Linked DNA regions of Homo sapiens: regions 1, 2 and 3 are each linked to region 4. Evidence: promoter capture Hi-C in 16 types of primary human blood cells and fetal thymus (Javierre and others, 2016). All regions are on one chromosome and are shown on one strand. The core of a region is centred on a gene start or on the middle of the fragment in contact, and the rest is flanking DNA. Distances in the headings are between cores, read along the strand shown. Region 1 overlaps DNTTIP1 (deoxynucleotidyltransferase terminal interacting protein 1). Region 2 overlaps CDH22 (cadherin 22). Region 3 has its middle 44 kb from the start of CD40. Region 4 holds the start of SLC12A5-AS1 (SLC12A5 and MMP9 antisense RNA 1).

What was found. The method cuts DNA at HindIII sites, captures the fragments that hold promoters and counts their contacts. A CHiCAGO score of 5 or more calls a contact.
Region 1: a fragment that was not itself captured here is called in contact with the fragment with the promoter of SLC12A5-AS1 in region 4 in 5 of 17 cell types (fetal thymus, total CD4 T cells, total CD8 T cells and 2 more); the score reaches 5.8 in fetal thymus.
Region 2: a contact is called between a fragment that was not itself captured here and the fragment with the promoter of SLC12A5-AS1 in region 4, in 9 of 17 cell types (naive B cells, total B cells, naive CD4 T cells and 6 more). The highest score is 9.0, in naive B cells.
Region 3: a fragment that was not itself captured here is called in contact with the fragment with the promoter of SLC12A5-AS1 in region 4 in 1 of 17 cell types (naive B cells); the score reaches 5.6 in naive B cells.

Annotation. Positions count from the first base shown.
Region 1 is chr20:45,796,923-45,800,040 of GRCh38, reverse strand. All of the region lies in intron 4 of DNTTIP1 (deoxynucleotidyltransferase terminal interacting protein 1), which reads right to left. Among named protein-coding and RNA genes, the nearest start is that of DNTTIP1, 6.5 kb to the right of the region's middle. The HindIII fragment of the contact is 279 bases long and covers 1,139-1,417 here.
Region 2 is chr20:46,182,735-46,185,603 of GRCh38, reverse strand. The region is part of intron 10 of CDH22 (cadherin 22); the gene reads left to right. Among named protein-coding and RNA genes, the nearest start is that of CD40, 66 kb to the right of the region's middle. The HindIII fragment of the contact is 9,259 bases long and covers 1-2,869 here.
Region 3 is chr20:46,161,119-46,164,024 of GRCh38, reverse strand. No RefSeq gene overlaps it. Among named protein-coding and RNA genes, the nearest start is that of CD40, 44 kb to the right of the region's middle. The HindIII fragment of the contact is 4,970 bases long and covers 1-2,906 here.
Region 4 is chr20:46,020,368-46,023,397 of GRCh38, reverse strand. SLC12A5-AS1 (SLC12A5 and MMP9 antisense RNA 1) reads left to right here and starts at 1,325. Exons shown (of 3, transcript NR_147699.1): 1 at 1,325-1,874. It also overlaps a transcript of SLC12A5 not described here. RefSeq lists silencers at 1,275-1,634, 1,655-1,814. The HindIII fragment of the contact is 8,792 bases long and covers 1-3,030 here.

The DNA of each region.
Region 1 (3,118 bases), core at 29-2,528, 220 kb after region 4:
TCAAGCAATTCTCCTGCCTCTGCCTCCTGAGTAGCTGGGATTACAGGCGTGCAACCACACCCAGCTAATTTTTTTTTTTTTTTTTTTTGGTATTTTTAGTAGAGATGGGGTTTTATCACGTTGGCTAGGCTAGTCTCACACTTCTGACCTCGTGATCTGCCCGCCTCAGCCTCCCAAAGTGTTGGGATTACAGGCGTGAGCCAGTGCGCCTGGCCTGCTGTTTTTCTTTTAATAAATACTGAGTACCTGGGACCTAAGTGCTGTGGACACAGCAGTAACTAGGACAAGCTCTTGTGGAGCTTATAGTTTGTGGGTGATCTGGATAATAAGCACAGAAACAAACAAGGTAACTGTGGATCATGATAGATGCTGTGAGAAAAAAAGAAAAAAACCCAGGCAGATGTGACAGAGAACCACCAGAGGGGAAGGGCTACTTTGCGGGAATGGCCAGGGAAGGCCTTGCTCAGAAGGTGGCCTCTGAGTTGAGATGTGAAGGAGGCTGTAAAAAAAGCTGGGCAGAAGTGTTTCAGCAGCAGGGAGGAGTGCAGAAGCTCAAAGGTGGGAACACCTGGCTCATTTGACAAAGAAAAGGATGGAATGGGCAGAGGGGAGATGGTGCAGCAGGTGGAGAATTGGGTTCACCCGACCTCTGCCAGTGGCATTTGACAGTGCTGAGGGCTCCCCCTTCTGGAAACACTCTTTTCTACAGGCTCCTGTGGCCACACTTCCTGTGTTCCTTCTACTTCTCTGGCCGTTCTTTCTTAGCCTTCTTTGCTGGCTTTTCCTTCTCAATCTGGTTCTTTTCCCTATCCTCTCTCATTACATATTCTATCTGCTCTCACCTATTCTCACAGCTTCAATTAACATCTATAAACCACGATTCCATAATTCAACTGTAGACAAAAGGTTATCCTCTGAGCTCTAGACTTATATACCAAATAGTCTGCCCCATGTCTATGCTTGGATGGCTCAAAGCTGCTAATCCATAATTGGATTCATGCTCTTCTCCTCCAAACTTTGTCCCTTTCCAGTGAAGGGTGATCAAGTCTCAATGTGTAATTATGCACACATTTGTTGGTAATCTAATTCACACCTGTCTGCTTAAGTAGGCTGTTAAGTTCTATTAGAGCAGGAAGCTTGTTTGTTCATTTATCATTTGTTTGTTCCTTCATTTACTCAATAATTCAGCAAACTCTGTACACATACTAAGAGTCATATTCCAGGGCTGGGAATACAGTGGTGAACAAGATTAGGCCTCAACTCTTGTAAAGCTCAAGATTTTAGCAGAGGTAGGAGTGCGAGGGGAAGACCTCTCTGATATTTAAACTAAGATCTGAAGAAAAGAAGGAGCCGGCTTTATAGAGTTAAGGGTAGAGTACCCCAGGTACTAAGAACAGCAAGTGAAATGGCCTAAGCTTGTGCTGGAGGAGCAGAAAGGAGTTCAGAACAGCCAGAGTATAGTCAATAAAAAAGAGGTGAGATGAAATGAAGTTAAAGAAGCAGGCAGAAGCCAGTCGAGGGTAGGCTCTGTGGGTCATGGTAAGGCATTTTTTTTTAAATTATACTTTAAGTTTTAGGGTACATGTGCACAACATGCAGGTTTGTTACATATGTATACATGTGCCTTGTTGGTGTGCTGCACCCAGTAACTCGTCATTTAACATTAGGTATATCTCCTAATGCTATCCCTCCCCCCTCCCCCAACCCCACGACAGGCCCCGGTGTCTGATGTTCCCTTTCCTGTGTCCATGTGTTCTCATTGTTCAATTCCCACCCATGAGTGAGAACATGCGGTGTTTGGTTTTTTGTCCTTGTGATAGTTTGCTGAGAATGATGGTTTCCAGCTTCATCCATGTCCCTAAAAAGGACATGAACTCATCACTTTTTATGGCTGCATAGTATTCCATGGTATATATGTGCCACATTTTCTTAATCCAGTCTATCATTGTTGGACATTTGGGTTGGTTCCAAGTCTTTGCTATTGTGAATAGTGCCACAATAAACATATGTGTGCATGTGTCTTTATAGCAGCATGATTTATATTCCTTTGGGTATATACCCAGTAATGGGATGGCTGGGTCAAATGGTATTTCTAGTTCTAGATCCCTGAGGAATCGCCACACTGACTTCCACAATGGTTGAACTAGTTTACGGTCCCACCAACAGTGTAAAAGTGTTCCTATTTCTCCACATCCTCTCCAGCACCTGTTGTTTCCTGACTTTTTAATGATCACCATTCTAACTGGTGTAAGATGGTATCTCATTGTGGTTTTGATTTGCATTTCTCTGATGGCCAGTGATGATGAGCATTTTTTCATGTGTCTTTTGGCTGCATAAATGTCTTCTTTTGAGGAGTGTCTGTTCATGTCCTTTGGCCACTTGTTGATGGGGTTGCTTGTTTTTTTCTTGTAAATTTGTTAGAGTTCATTGTAGATTCTGGGTATTAGCCCTTTGTCAGATGAGTAGATTGCAAAAATTTTCTCCCATTCTGTAGGTTGCCTGTTCACTCTGATGGTCATTTCTTTTGCTGTGCAGAAGCTCTTTAGTTTAATTAGATCCCATTTGTCAATTTTGGCTTTTGTTGCCATTCCTTTTGGTGTTTTAGTCATGAAGTCCTTGCCCATGCCTATGTCCTGAATGGTATTGCCTAGGTTTTCTTCTAGGGTTTTTATGGTTTTAGGTCTAACATTTAAGTCTTTAATCCATCTTGAATTAATTTTTGTATAAGGTGTAAGGAAGGGATCCAGTTTCGGCTTTCTACATATGGCTAGCCAGTTTTCCCAGCAGGATCATGGTAAGGCATTAAGACTTTATTCTCCCTGCAACAGGAAAGTCACTGAAGGGTTTTTAAAATGGGGAGTGACATGATCTAATTCATCTTTACGGAGATCAGTCTGGCTGCTGTGAGAAGAGTGGATTGGAACTGGGTAACGGTGAATGTAACTCTGGACTGAGATATAAATGTGTGAATTATGAGCGGCTGAATTGGCTTCCAAGCCACAGGACTAGATGAAAACACCTATGAAAACAGTGAGCCATGAAAGAGAAGGGGTTTGAGGACTGAACTTGGGAAGGCACCAACAGTTAGAGGCGGGGGGTGAGAGAGAAGAGTAGGCAA
Region 2 (2,869 bases), core at 35-2,534, 160 kb before region 4:
GAGACACCACGCCAGGCCCACTCACATTTCTTTCTGCAACCTCACAGCCATCCTGTGAGGTAGTTTTCTGACTCCTCTCCCCATTTTACAGGTGATGAAACTGAGACTCTAAGAGAGAAAGAGTCCTGCCCAGGGTCATATAGGGAGTCAGTGGTGTGGGTAGGATTCAACCCAACCCCATCCCAAGTCCAGTGTGCTTCCTGCCTCAGCACACCACCTGGAAAGCAAACTGCCCTGCCCTGCCTGAGTCCACTGTGAGATTCCTCCCCTCTGGCTCTCACAAGTTTCTCATGATGTTGATGTTTGAACCTTTAAGGAATAGACTGAGGGAAGGGGGCAGTCACCAGACTGGAAATAAGGGACCAGGCTCAGCGAAGGGTGCTCTATACCACCCTGGCAAGCTCCTGTTCCTCTCTGGTTTTTTTGTGTTTGTTGTTGTTTGTGTGTGTGTGTGTGTGTGTGTGTGTGTGTGTATGCGTGTGGGGTTTTTTTGTTGTTTTTTGTTTGTTTGTTTGTTTGAGACAGCATCTCATTCTGTTGCCCAGGCTGGAGTGCAGTGGTGCGATCTCAGCTCACTGCAACCTCTGCCTCCCAGGGTCAAGAGATTCTCTTGCCTCAGCCTTCAGAGTAGCTGGGGTTACAGGCACGCACCACCACGCCAGGCTAATTTTTGTATTTTTAGTAGAGACGAGGTTTCGCCATGTTGGCCAGGCTGGTCTCGAACTCCTGACCTCAGGTGATCTGCCCGCCTCGGCCTACCAAAGTGCTGGGGCGCCTGTTCCTCTCTAAGCCTCAGTTTCATCATCTAAAATGGGAGTAACACCTACTGCCTCGGGTGGCTAGGTAGCCCCAGTAAGATAAGGGCCACCAAGATATAGTGTTAATACCTAGAAATGTCAATTCCTACATCCAGCAATTATTTAGTGAGTGTTTATTGAGACACAAAGCCTCTGTGTCGGGGTCTGCTCCGGGTCCTGGAAATGCAACAGCAAACACAACAAAACCTAGTTTATATTCTAGTGAGGTGAGACAGAAATGACACAAATAAAAAAGTATGTTGGGGATGATAAGTGGCTGGGGTGGAGGAATAATGCAATCTCCACAAGGGTCTGGACTTGACTTTGTTCAACCCTAGGTGCCTGGAGCAGTGCTTGGCATATCGTAGGTGTTTGATAAAATGTGTTCAATGAAACAGTGAAAAATAAAGCAGGGCACAGTGGCTCAGCCCTGTAATCTCAACACTTTGGGAGGCTGAAGTGGGCGGATTAGTTGAGGTCAGAAGTTCGAGACCAGCCTGGCCAACATGGTGAAACTCAGTCTCTACTAAAAATACAAAAATTAGTCCAGCAGGGTGGCGCATGCCTGTAATCCCAGCTACTCCAGAGGCTGAGGCAGGAGAATTGCTTGAACCCAGGAGGCGGAGGTTGCAGTGAGGTGAGATCTCACCATTGCCCTCCAGCCCGGGCAACAAGAGCGAAACTCCATCTAAAAAAAAAAAAAGAGAGAGAGAAAGCAGGGTAAGAGGAGAAGCTATCTTCTTAAATAGGGTGGCCTGGGAAGGACTCTCCAAGGGTATCCATAGTGAGAAGGGACCTAAAGGATATGAGAGAAAACGACCACCCCAGTGGAAGAAATAGCAAGTGCAAAGGCCCTGTGGTGAGCAGGACTGGGGTGGATTAGGAATGGAGGAGACCTGTGTGATTAGAGTGAGTAAGAGACAGGACTGGGAGGAGATGTGGTCAGCGAGGGGGCCAGATCATGTGGGTTCCTTCTGGCCTTGGAACAGGTCTGGGATCCTTCTCAAGGCCTTTACACACTCACACCCAATGCGGAGCCTTAGTGGCCTCTGAAGCCAGACCCATCTGTACCCCTGGGAGTCCTGTTAAAAATATGTAAGGCTCATGTTTATAACTCCAGCACAAGGCAGGAGGATCCCTTGAGGCAAGGAGTTTGAGAATAGCCTGGACAACACAGTGAAAACCCATCTCTTTAAAAATAATAATAATAATTAGCTGGGCATGGTGGCGCACACCTGTAGTCCCAGCTACTCAGGAAGCTGAGGCAGGAGAATCACTTGAGCCTAGGAGTTTGAGGCTCCATTGAGCCACGATCGCACCACTGCACTCCAGCCTGGAAGACAGAGTGAGACCTTGTCTCAGTCAATCAATAATTAAAAATAAATAATGAAAAATAATAAACAGATTTAACAACCAGTGCAGCTCAGATGGCCAATCAGAAAGGACGCTGACCAAAACCTGGAGCAGGACCCTGGAAACTTTACTACACCAGGCATTAACTCCTTCGTGGCTTGATTGTGTCAAAGTTGGGAGGCTGCCTGGGGAAAAGGCTGAGGCAGCAGGGAGAGATTTGGGGGGCTTAGTGTCAACAGCTATTTAAGCCTTTTTTGGAAGTATTTCAATATTTTAACAACCAGTACAGCCCTGCCTATTCATTAGTCCAGTAGTATCCTGAGCAGGTCACAGGAAACACAGCTAGCCTTGGCTCAACTCTGCCAAGTTCACCAGGCTTTCCAACCCAAGGGGCCCGAGATTCTGCCTCAGTTGCTTTTGTTTAGCTGGGGGAGAGGGGGGGGCACCAGAGCTGCCATCCAGAGTGCCACCTGGTGTAAGCTCCGGGGACAGGGTGGCAGCAGCACGCTGAGGTCACAGCAGCCGTGGAAGGCCTCCTCCTCCTCCAGTCCCTCAGCCCCTTCCCACTACTTGCCAAGCCCCCTCCTCCTCACTGTATAAATATCCTAGGTGACAAACGGCTACCCCAACCCATCTGTTTCTTTGTACAAATGTGTAGCCAGTTTGGAAACGTGATTTATAAATATTGCCTTTGCAGCCAGGGATTGACACTGATGTAT
Region 3 (2,906 bases), core at 241-2,740, 140 kb before region 4:
ACGGTCAGTTAGTGAAAATGTGTGTACACCATGCAAGCAGTTCTACTAATGAGTGTAGACTCACGGAGAACATGATGGAGATGGAGATGAAGAACACACATACAACAGCCACACACAGATCTCCAGCTGTGCTTAGTGAACTCCCTCCCAGGGTGTCTGAGCCTTTGTGCACACCGAAGAGGAAGTGTACAGGCACAGAGACATTGCCACATGTGCACACATGCATGCACACATCACACGCACAGGACCCCTCAAAGCCCACTCCGTGTCCCCACAGAGGCCCATGGTCCTCACCTGCTGAACCCAGAGATGGCCCAGTTCCCCAGGCTGATTTCCCAGGGGAAGGGGGGGGGGCCACAGCCCCACCTGTCAACCTGCTATTTGTCACTCCATCACGGCCAGTGCGCTGACATTCAGAGCCCAGCACTGAGATGATCACATTTAGCTGTAATGTACCACAGACTGCACTGACATTTGGAAAATATTCCACCTCGGGACCCATTTGACTTCAAACTTTTTCCTGGAAGAGGAGAGAAGCAGCAGCAAGGACCTGCAATATTCTCAGCTTCCCAGGAGCTGAGAATCTGGGCCTCACCTGCCAAAGACCCGGGTATCCTGGCTGCTCCTTCTGCAGCTACCTGGAGACAGGGGGATGAGGAAGAGGAGTAGAGGCTCCCAAGGATGAAGTTCCGTATCATACATCAAGTCTTTACAGAAGATTCATTGGGAGTCCCCCATGTTTGGGGCCTGGCGATATCCACCTGCTGTCAATGGCACACCCACTAAGCGCCAGGCCTTGCTTTCAGCATGTCACATACAAGATCTCATTTGGCAATGGTAATGTGAGCTAGGAACTGTTATCATCCCATGTGAACAATGAAATCTCAGAGAGGTAAAGTGACTTGCCCAAGGTCACCAAGCTAGGAAGGAGTAGAGCTGAGATTTAACCCCAAGTCTGTCTGGCTCCGGAACCTGCCCTTTTTGCACTCCACAAAATGTGTCGCAGAGTCAGGCAAATGCTGACTCCTTCCCCGGGGCCACTCACCACCTTTTCTCTTCTCCCTTTCCCCTCTCAGGCTTCCTTTCTCTCCTCTCATTTCCCATCCTCTCTGCCTCAGTAAGCAGGACTAGTGCTTAGTCTGGGATAGCTTCCTGCAAGGGAAGAGGAGGGGATGGATGAGCAGCACCTGGAAGTCCGGAAGACTGGATGGATAGGATTAGCATCTGCAGAATCAATGTGCAAACCTCGCAGAAAAGACTCTGGAAAATACTGCATTTTAGAATGGAATGGTTGGACTCTTCCTACGTGACAGCTGCAGAGACCCCGGGCTTGGATGCAGGAGACTTGCCTGTAGTGGCCCAGCCCTCCCTGAAGTTGTGCCCACCCAAGATCCAGGCAACAAGGCTATCAGGGTAATCTAATGGCAGCCAGGGACGCCTCCACCCATTCCCCAAAAGAGGAGCTACAGAGAATCCTGCTGAACTAAATGGACTGGGCAATAATAGTGAAAATGTAGACGGAGTGCTAGAGAGTGAGGAAAAGGATATTTCGAAGGCATGGTGAAAATGACATGGCCCCAGCTAATCCAAAAAGAGATAGAAGAGGTAGGAAGGCTGTCCAGATTTCTTATGAGCTGATTAATCTCCTCAAATAAGTCAGAGTCCAACTTCCCAAAAGGCAAAAGAAAGTTAGGTTAATCTACTCTAAATGATTCCTGAGCTTCTCAGGGTGGCAATCAATACCCACACACACTCTCTCTCTCCTCTCTCTCTTCATGAGTAATTCTCAGTAATTACAAGAAAGAGGGTTTTGTGGAAAATGACATTCTAGCTGCAGAGAGAAGCCCAGGCAAAAGAATAAATTGGCCTCCAGTGGGAAGCCAGCCCTTTCAGTGGGGGAGGCTGTGGGACGGCCACCATCATATAATGTCTTGGGCCACAGAGTCCACCATAGGTCTGTCTGCCTGCAAGAGCTTTGAGTGGAAGAAGAAAGGCCAAATGTGGAGGATGAACCAAGATCTCCCACAGAAGCAAAAGGTTTCTACCCACTAGCACCCATCCTTGATGCCCTAGGAGTGACAGTGTCTGTAACTGATGTGCTTGAAGCATATCAATACTTAACACTAATACGTCAAGGATACCATCATCGATGAAAGGATGCTATCATTGATGAAAGGATACTATCATCGTTGAAAGGATACCAATATTGCTGAAAGGATACCAATATTGCTGAAAGGATACCATCACTGATGAAAGTCATCAGTGATGACTTTGGGGGCACCGTAAGCACTCATCACCAGCCTTAGGGCTCCATCACCTTTATTCTCAGGAGTACCCATCAGTGCCCATCCTGAAGGCTGGAGGGGCATCCTCCTGATGCCCCTGAGTAGAGGAACCTTATATTTCTTGATCATCATTGTATAGCCACTAGCCATGGTGGCTGGCACATAACAGAAGCACAGTAAACATCTGTTGAGTAAATGAATGAGTGAGTGAATGTTCTTGGGAAGGATGGACACCTCTTCTTGGTCCTGTCTACCACCCTGTCCTCAGGGCCTTACACAGTGCAATGCATAGCCAAGGAGAGGGCTCCATAAACATCTGTTGATGTGTGGGAGGGCGGGTGGGGGAATGGTGGATGCACACGTGATGCAGGATGCACACATGGAAGGAAGAAAGGAGGCCTTTGGAGCACAGTCACTGCCCCTCTGTAATGCCAGGGAATCTGCCTCTGAGACCACAGAGCTCAGCACAAAGGAATGCCAAAAGGGAAGAGAAATCTGCCTCCCGCACCATCCCTAGGGGTCTGGGCCCCCATGTGGCTAGATGGTTTTGGTCGATTCTCCCCTTTGCAGTGGGGATGAGGGTAGGAATGGAGGCAGGCAGAGGCAAGGAGAGTCTCTCAC
Region 4 (3,030 bases), core at 76-2,575:
GGCCAAGACGTGGGGATCAGTTGGATTTGCTGGAAAGAAAAAAGGAAGGGTTGAGAATGGCTCCAGAATTTCTTACTTTCAAATCTGGGAGGCTGGTAAGGTCATTCATGAAAATGAGAAAAGAGATTATGAGAAAGATGAAGAGTGGAAGGAGCCCAAGAAATCCAAGTGGCCACAACCAGGAGGCGTTCGGTTCCCGGGACTGGGGCCATTCGGAATTCCAGGCCTCAATTTGGTCATCTGTACAATGAGGAGGTCCGCCAGATAACCCCCTAAGGGTTACTCTAGGGGTTTCGGCGCTTGGGTTTGCTTCGGGGCGAGCTCACCTGCGGCTCGGCAGCGACCCCTGGCGGTCTGGGGAGGCTTCTCCTCCTCCTTCTCCTCCTCCTCCTCTTCCTCCTCCTCTTCCTCCTCCTCCTCTTCCTCCTCCTCCTCCTCCTCCTCCTCCTCCTCCCCTCGCTGGGGCCACTACAAGCCGATTCGCCTTGTTCCTTCCAGACCCGAGGGCCTCAGAGCCAGGGAGAGGACCCCTGATGAGTGCCCCCTGAGGGGAGACTGTGCACGCGCCCAGGATGCTACTTCTCCACCGAAGGCCAGAAGGATCTTTCCCCTCCCCTATACTCTGTGCCCTGCGTGTAACTTCCATTACAAGACCCTGCACAGGGCCCGCGAGGAAGACGCCCCCAACCCCGCCTGAGCTGGCTCCTCCCAACCCTTACGGAGCTCGAGCAGACAAGGAGCTAAGTGGGTCCCCAAGAGTCGGGATCAGCGACCCTACGGCATCCTCCCTGAATCTCGCTGCCCAGGATCCATACTAACTTCCCTGCCTCCCGTCTCCTTCCCGGGATCCCCAGTCGCTGTCCGCTAAGCCTCCAGGGAGCTAGAGGATTGGAGGATCCGCCAGGCACCGAGGACCCGCTGACCTGGCACCTGCCTCGGCAACCCTGACTCAGTTTTCCTCCCGCCCTCGACCCCACCCCCCTCCCAGGCCCCACTCCCATCCTCCTGGCCCAACTCATTCCCTACTAGTCCCGCCCTTTCCTGACCCCAAACCAACCTAGTCCCGCCGCCTCCCCTTTAGGGGCTCCTGACCATCCCCCTTCAACACACAGCCCCCTTTTTCCCTAGTTCCACCTCCTCACTCTGGTCCCGCTCCCTACTCGAGATGTCCCCGCCCCTTTAGTGCCCTACGGCCTACTCTCCACCTTGACCCCGGCCTTTCCATCACCAGACCCGCCCCCTTCGCCTCCGTCCAAACCCCTTCCCTGGCCCCACCCCTTTCCCTCGTGGCCACGCCCACCTCGCGTTTGGCCCCTCCCCCTCCACACTTTGCGTTCCGCGGCCCCGGCCCCTTGGTTTCCTAGTCCTGGCTCCATTCCCCTCTCAGGCCTAGGGCTGGGACCCCTCCCCGCCCCCGGTCTTGGCCCTGCCCCCTTCAACAGACGGTCCGCCCCGGCCCCTCCCCCTCGTCCCGCCCGGCCCTGGCAGGCCCCGCCCCCTGCGGCCTCTACCTTTGACGTCTTCCCCCGGGAGGTGGCGGGGGTCTGCGACCGAATGCCGGCGGGACTCTGGGTCAGGGCTTCTGGCGGGCCCTGCGGGGGGCAGCGAGGTGACCGTGAACCTGCGGCTCATGGCGCGGAAAGGAGCCAGGCGGCCGCGGCAAGGTCCGGGATCGCACAAGTGGCTGCAACCAGGCTCTAGGAGGGAGAAAGAGCGGATCCCCCAACCCCCTCCGCCCGCCCGCCCCCCGCGAGACGCGGCGCCGCGCAGGGTCCTAGTGCCCGCTGTGCGAAGGGTTCCTGAATCTGGCCACTTCGCTGGGAGGCCCTGGGCTCCCCAGTGCCACCCGAAGGGCCTGAGGAGGCCATCTGCAGGTGAGAGTCGTCCCTACAACGGGGGCACCTCTGTTAGGGTCTCCTAAACACCTGGGGCTCATTCATTCATTCATTCATTCATTCGGCACATGTCGATAGCGCTCCTGTGTTTCGGTCAATGGTGCGAGGGATACGTCGGTGGATGAGATCCACTGGCTTCTTGCCCTCAAGTGGCTTAAATTCTAATAAGGAGAAAAAGATTATAAGTGAGCAAATGCATAGATGAGATCATTTGAGATTGGATGTATGTTTAAAACTAGGGCCATGGGATAATGGGTAAGAGGGAGGACTACTTTAGGGGTGGCCTGAGAAGGCCTCCTAGAAGATGTGGTATTTGAGCTGAGACCTCACTGATGAGAAGGGCCAGCTATGCAAAGATCTAGGGGGAAGAGTTCTCTAGAAGAAGAAACAGCAAATGCAGAGCCTTGGAGTGAGAAGGAGTCCCGACTGTCCAAGAAACAGCAAGGCCATTGTGTCTGGAAGAGAGTGAGTGGAGAAGAGAGTGACTGGAGATGAGGGAGGAGAGAAGGGCAGATCATGTGGTCTTCTGAAGGCTTTGGGGAGGATCCTGGATTTTTTGAGCAGGGGAATGATGTGATCCAATTTATAATTTAACAGGATCATTCTGGCTGCTGGGCGAAGGTTCAACTAAAGAATGGCAAGAGTAGAAGCTGGAAATCTAATTAGGAGGCTCCTGCAGACCCCAAGCTGGGGGGTGATGACAGCCAGACTAGAGTGGTGGCAGTTGTCTGATTCCAGTTAGGTTTTGAAAGTGAAACCATCAGGACCCACTGATGGATCGGATGTGACACGTGACCATAAGAGTGAAGTCAAGGAGAAATCCTGGCAATTCACACACTGCTGGTGGGAGTGTAGTTAGGCAAAAACTACTTTGGGAAACTATTTGGAAACATCTACTGAAGGTGAACGTACACATATCCTTCAACCCAGCAGTTTTTCTCCTAGGTATATACCCGAAAGAAATGACTACTTGTGATCACCAAAAGACATTTACCATGAATGTTCATAGGGGCATTGTTCATAATAGCCCCAAATTGGAATCTACCAAATGCTTGTCAACAGTAAAATAGAGAAATAAGTCGTAGTACCTTCACACAATGGAATACCATCTACAATTCTCAGAACAATATGGATG